Regions from separate parts of the Homo sapiens genome. Here region 1 is linked to region 2. The links are contacts of gene promoters, found by promoter capture Hi-C in blood cells and fetal thymus (Javierre and others, 2016). All regions are on one chromosome and are shown on one strand. The core of a region is centred on a gene start or on the middle of the fragment in contact, and the rest is flanking DNA. Distances in the headings are between cores, read along the strand shown.

Region 1 (3,378 bases), core at 444-2,943, 490 kb after region 2:
TCCTATTCTCTCTTCATCCTTGCCTCTCCAGGGAACCCTCCTGAGGAGCTGAAAGACAACCTTTGGCTTATCTTGTTTGCATTGAATCTTTACTCTAATGGTCAGGGAACATTCCTCCTTCCAAGCAGCTGAGTATATTTCATGCAAATTGCACTTCTGGTACTTTTCACTGACAGTCAAGAGCTTCTGAGATCCTTCTCTGTTCTTCTGTACAGGTGTCTTTTTTTTTTTTTAACCCCAGGTTCATTGCCTACATTGATATTTTAATAATGTTACAGATAATGATAAACACATACTTAAATTAGATATACACATATGATTGTATGGGAGGGCTCTGTAGGCCAACATAAGGACAGTAACCATTCAGTAGATTCCCCATCTTTAGGTTTATCAAGAGATTTGAAGTTGCTATCTGGGGGACTTACTCATATTGTCTTTGACAATCTCTTTCTAGACTGTTTCTACAGTCTAACATCCTACAGTTTTGTTCCCTTACTATCTATACTTTATTACTCCCTATATTCAATTGTAGTAGGCACTTTTTTTTTTTTTTTTTTTTTTTGCCTTTACTCATGCTGCTCCCACCCTGGGATTCCTGTCCTGGGTTTTTCACTTATTAGTGTCTTCAGGAGATATGAGAAAGCACTCCCCATGTCTCAATCAGAAGTCATTACTTCCTTCTTTGTACTCCCAGTGCACATTGCTGACATTGCTGAGAGGTCATTGGTCCCATCATTTACTGCTATTTCTGTTGGGTGTATACGAATATTTATAATATATATGTGTATGTATGTTCGATATTATATATTTGTATTATGTATTTATGTAATATTATCACAGATTCACACAGGGTGTTAAAAATAGGAGATTCTCAATAACTACTAAACCAATGGATATTTTGTGTGAGTAACTGAACACATGATTTTCTTGTAAACCAATTTGATTTTATTCTTTTAATGATTAACTTTAAAATGAACAGAGGTAACTATTTTGAACAACTAACTGCTGTTGACCATGATTCTGATGAAAGTAACCTATGTCTTCTAGAAGTTTAGATTCATTCTGAATTGCCTAAACACATTTTTAACAAGAGTGTCCAATCTGGACCTACATAGTACACAAGTAAAAGGAAAATAGCACAGGCTCTCGGCGATAAAGCTTCAAGGTGAATTTATGAGTGTTCAGGGGAAGTTTTCTCCTTCACTTCCAAATGTACTGTCCCAATTTGACCAAATATTTGCATAGTATGTTGTACAAATATATAAAGTACCCTTTCATTTTGTACTTTCAATGCTTGTGTCACATAGCACCATAATATGAAAAAGAGGACAAGTGAATCCCTGAACAGAAACAAAAATGTTTTTATGTCACCAAGAACTATGTCCTTCCTCTTTAATAACAAAAAAAAGGAAACACACACACACACACACACACACACACACACACCCCAAAAAGAGATCAGGAAGACTCCATCTATGATGGTGTAATTTTTGTGCTGACGTGTTGGGCAAAAAGAAAATCACTGTCAGCCTCCTGACTTTCACCTGCTAAACACACAACCACAGGCGCTAAGAAACCTAGGAAAGCACTTTCATCAGCAAAAGTTTGTCTCCCCCAGCTACTTGGTAACTTCCTGAGTCCTCTGTGCCTCTGTCAGTTGCTCCAGGAGACCCAGGGCAAGGTAGATAAAAGTCATTAATTAGGAAAAGTAATGGAGAAATCATCCACAATGAGCATCTAGTGAATTGTTTTCATCACAATCTGAACTGCAAAGAGATCAGAGTACAGGACAGTGACACGCCATTGTGGAATCCAAGTGGGCTCAGGTGTGTTAGATGTTAGTTTGTGAAAAAATATTTGCTTATCAGCAATGTCAGAATAAAGAGGTATAAATATTTATTTGAAGTTTAAAATCCACATTTCAATTATTTATCCTACTTGAGTCTCAGTTATCCTAATCTAGAAAATGGGATAATAATAACTACACTATAGAGTTATTATGATAATTAAATAAGATAATATATGAAATGCTTGGCATGGCACTTTGGGTATCATGAATTCTCAGCCATGTCAGTTCTCCTAATAACAATAGTAATATTTATTCAGAACTTATTAGTGCAGTTGCGATTTTAAGGAATTCATATGGATTAGCTCATTTTGTCCTCTTAATAAACTCTATCAGGCCCTCCAAATGTTAAATATAACACAAAAAGTTTAGTTAAAGCTTTACCAGATGATTACTAATATAGTATATATAAAGCCATCGTTTTAGCATTTAGTATTCAGAGATTAGTTCATAGGGTCAAAAATTCTACTAATGTAGTTAGTATATATTATATCCACTATTAGAAATATGATAGCATAATGATTTCTTCACAATTGCTTTACAGTGCTAAAATCTCTTACATATGTGTCTTATTTGATCTTTAGAATAGTCCTACTAAATAGATAAAGTAGTTATTATCTTCCTTTCTTTTTTTTTTTTTTTTTTTTTTTTTGAGACAGACTCTGTCACCCAGGCTGGAGTTTAATGGTGCAATCTCTGCTCACTACAACCTCCACCTCCCAGGTTCAAGCACTTCTCCTGCCTCAGCCTCAAGAGTAGCTGGGATTACAGGCACCCGCCACCACACCCGACTAATTTTTGTATTTCTAGCAAAGACAGGGTTTCACCATGTTCGCTAGGCTGGTCTCGAACTCCTGACCTCAGGTGATCTGCCTGCCTTGGCCTCCCAAAGTGTTGAGATTACAGGCGTGAGCCACTGTACCCGGCTTTTCTTTATATTTAAAGCAACTGAAACAGAGAAATATTAAGCAACCTACACTGGTACATACCAAACCTGAAGAGCCAGGTCTCTGAATTCTCATTTAATGTTTTAAGTCTTGTATGAGTCTACATCATATAGCACCTCACACCACTCATTCAATAACTAGTTTATTGTGCATTATTTTTAAGTATATATCCTTCCCCAAGCCGTATAATGAGCACATTTAGGGTACTCTAGGATATCTTATGATCATTGAGATTTACAATTGGATGGGACATCAAATCCAGTGAAACAACTTCAGAGACTGCTCCTCTCTGCTCCCAAGATCCACATTCCCCTCCTGAATGCACAATTAGACCACTTTTCCCAAGTTAGGTGTGGTCATGGGCATGAGTTCTAGCCAATGGGATGTGAGCAGAATTGTCTTGTGCCACGTACAATTCTTTCTACTCCTCCACTAACTCGGAGAAGAGAAAAGGGAACATGTTGAAACTAGAAATATTTCATATATGTACATAAACACACATTCTTATGGATGTTGACTAGTAATCTTATTTATGTACATATGTGTGTATTTGTGTGTGGAGTGTATGTGTGTGTGTATCCTTCC
Region 2 (3,518 bases), core at 847-3,346:
TAAACATCAAACCTGTGAAAAGCCCTTTGGCCTTATCTGGATTACATTGTTACTAGTAAACAACCCTTTTATAATCTCTCTTTTTTCTTGTCTAGGGTAAAACCAGGCACACAGTTACACTTTTCCACCAACTTCAGGCTTCTTTATTCTGCACCTCCCTGCCCTACCCCCTGTAAGGCACTCTATACCCCCAGAATTTCGGTCACTGTGAGTGCCGCCTCGCTTCCATTTCCAAATATCTGCTATTAATAGCCTTGCTGTAGTGGGCACGTGTGCCCACATCACCAAGCTGTCAGAGGAAAAGAAGGGAGGGCTTTCAATTCAACATGTGTACTCAAATTATAGATTAACCAGGTTTAGATGAGGCTGCATGACGACCGGGAACAGGAAGGGGAGAGGAGAAACGAGAGGCTCCCAGGCTTGGGTGGGGAGGAGCCCCTCTGCAGATGCCCAATCCCCCTAATTTACGTATCGCACACCCCTGAATGGCGCCTATGGTTCTTTTTCTCCTTCATCATCATCATCTTCTTTTTCTTTTTTTACTACGCTTTGCAACCTACCTTGGTACCCTCAACCCTTCTACCCCCACCTTCCCTCTGCAGTGCAAGGCTTGAAAAACAGGCCATCCCACCAATCAGCAGGCCTCCCCGGGAAACTCGCTCCGCCCCTCAGCCGCATTGGGCCGAGGCGCGCTCCCCCGCGGCCCGCCGGGTCCCAGCCACTGAGCATGCCCAGCGCCTCGACTGCTGAGTGCCCAGCCAGCATCCTGCAGTGCCTGGGAGCCTGAGGCCGAGGAGGGTCCCGGCGTAGTAAAGGGGCGGCAACCCCAAACGGGCCAGGCATCAAAATGAGACAGCATTAAACCGAGTGACATCTCTGTGGGTCCTTAGTGCCAGGCGAGCAAGCAGGGACAAACTGCTTGTTTATAGGTCGGCTTAAAAAATAAAAAAACTCTGGGGAGCGTTTGTTTGTGGGGAGACTGATACCGCAAGGTGACCCTGAAAGGGGCGCTTCAAGTAGACCCAGGCTGCTGATCTGGTCCACTCATGAAGTAACCATTTTCCTGTACAGTTGAGCTGGCACCATCCTTGTTTTCTCCCTGTTATCCTTGTGGTCAAGGTTAAAAACTTATAGGGTGGTTCAATGGGTGTGGGAGCTGTGTGTGAAACAAACATTTCAGCCAATATTTGCACAGTAGGGTTTTGGCCTTATGAACCCTCTGAAGGTCCCTAACAGCTTTTTAAAGTCACGGATAGACTTCGGAATATGATAAGGGACCTCTCATTTCCCCTCCCCCATGCCCTCAGCCTTAGGTGTGAGTCCCCCCGTCACACGGATGGGCAAGGGGAGCAGGAGAAAAGGTGATATTTACATTTTCTCCCTACTTGATCAGCAACTAATTCCACAGCGCCGGACGTGAGACACTTCCTGGGGATCCCTGTTCTCCTTTTGTAGTGACCATAACTGCCCCCAGTCACTGCCCTTGGGCGTCCCTCTGTTCCTTCCAGGTACCTCACGGCAGCAAATCTGGGGATCCCAAGGTGGAAGGCTGGCCCAGAAGTCCTTTAGAAAAACCTTAAAAAATACAGATCCCCTCACCATGGCCTATCGCCCTGAAGCCGAAATCTAGCTTTTAAATTTCCTGGGGGAAACAGCCTTGACTAGAAACCTCCCTCCCGTGGGTCAGTCTTACCTGATAGGTAAGAGGCAGCCCAGCTCCGGCGCCCCCGCCTCCCCCCGGCCTCCCACTCGGGGCTCTGTAGCCGCAGTGCCCCCCCGTGGCCCCCCACCCTCACTCCTGCGTCTTCCCGAGCTCGCCCCCTCCCGTTTTCCCAGACTCCCCTCGTGCTTTCGGGTAGCCACCCAAACACCCCCGCCTGCGCCCGCCGCGGGGATTCCTGCGGGCCGGGGGCGCCCCGGTTGGCGCGCGTGTAGGGAGGCGCTGCGCCGGAGCTGGCGGCCGCGCAGGGGCGCTGTCCTAGCGCTGCGCCGGGGTCGGCGCGGGCGCCGCTGCAGCACGGCTGGGGGGCGGAGAGGGGCGGGCGCGGGGCGGGCTCGGCCCGGAATGTAGAGACCCGGGCGGGAGCCTCCCGGCGGCGGCTGCCCGGCTGCCGAGCGCGGAGGCTCCGTCACGTGTTTTTCTCCTCCGAGTGAGACGGCGGCGCGGTCGGAGGGGGCCGGCGCGCAGAGCCAGACGCCGCCGCTTGTTTTGGTTGGGGCTCTCGGCAACTCTCCGAGGAGGAGGAGGAGGAGGGAGGAGGGGAGAAGTAACTGCAGCGGCAGCGCCTCCCGAGGAACAGGCGTCTTCCCCGAACCCTTCCCAAACCTCCCCCATCCCCTCTCGCCCTTGTCCCCTCCCCTCCTCCCCAGCCGCCTGGAGCGAGGGGCAGGGATGAGTCTGTCCCTCCGGCCGGTCCCCAGCTGCAGTGGCTGCCCGGTATCGTTTCGCATGGAAAAGCCACTTTCTCCACCCGCCGAGATGGGCCCGGATGGGGGCTGCAGAGGACGCGCCCGCGGGCGGCGGCAGCAGCAGCAGCAGCAGCAGCAGCAACAGCAACAGCCGCAGCGCCGCGGTCTCTGCGACTGAGCTGGTATTTGGGCGGCTGGTGGCGGCTGGGACGGTTGGGGGGTGGGAGGAGGCGAAGGAGGAGGGAGAACCCCGTGCAACGTTGGGACTTGGCAACCCGCCTCCCCCTGCCCAAGGATATTTAATTTGCCTCGGGAATCGCTGCTTCCAGAGGGGAACTCAGGAGGGAAGGCGCGCGCGCGCGCGCGCTCCTGGAGGGGCACCGCAGGGACCCCCGACTGTCGCCTCCCTGTGCCGGACTCCAGCCGGGGCGACGAGAGATGCATCTTCGCTCCTTCCTGGTGGCGGCGGCGGCTGAGAGGAGACTTGGCTCTCGGAGGATCGGGGCTGCCCTCACCCCGGACGCACTGCCTCCCCGCCGGGCGTGAAGCGCCCGAAAACTCCGGTCGGGCTCTCTCCTGGGCTCAGCAGCTGCGTCCTCCTTCAGCTGCCCCTCCCCGGCGCGGGGGGCGGCGTGGATTTCAGAGTCGGGGTTTCTGCTGCCTCCAGCCCTGTTTGCATGTGCCGGGCCGCGGCGAGGAGCCTCCGCCCCCCACCCGGTTGTTTTTCGGAGCCTCCCTCTGCTCAGCGTTGGTGGTGGCGGTGGCAGCATGGCGAGCCCTCCGGAGAGCGATGGCTTCTCGGACGTGCGCAAGGTGGGCTACCTGCGCAAACCCAAGAGCATGCACAAACGCTTCTTCGTACTGCGCGCGGCCAGCGAGGCTGGGGGCCCGGCGCGCCTCGAGTACTACGAGAACGAGAAGAAGTGGCGGCACAAGTCGAGCGCCCCCAAACGCTCGATCCCCCTTGAGAGCTGCTTCAACATCAACAAGCGGGCTGACTCCAAGAACAAGCACCTGGTGGCTCTCTACACCCGGGACGAGCACTTTGCCATCGCGGCGGACAGCGAGGCCGAGCAAGACAGCTGGTACCAGGCTCTCCTACAGCTGCA

The links. The method cuts DNA at HindIII sites, captures the fragments that hold promoters and counts their contacts. A CHiCAGO score of 5 or more calls a contact.
Region 1: a fragment that was not itself captured here is called in contact with the fragment with the promoter of IRS1 in region 2 in 2 of 17 cell types (total B cells and M0 macrophages); the score reaches 6.1 in total B cells.

What each region holds. Positions count from the first base shown.
Region 1 is chr2:226,305,749-226,309,126 of GRCh38, reverse strand. No RefSeq gene overlaps it. Among named protein-coding and RNA genes, the nearest start is that of MIR5702, 350 kb to the left of the region's middle. The HindIII fragment of the contact is 1,066 bases long and covers 1,161-2,226 here.
Region 2 is chr2:226,798,398-226,801,915 of GRCh38, reverse strand. It overlaps IRS1 (insulin receptor substrate 1), which reads left to right and starts at 2,096. Exons shown (of 2, transcript NM_005544.3): 1 at 2,096-3,518. The coding sequence starts at 3,178. It also overlaps a transcript of RHBDD1 not described here. RefSeq lists silencers at 558-767, 1,728-1,797, 1,818-2,237, 3,228-3,277. The HindIII fragment of the contact is 8,747 bases long and covers 1-3,518 here.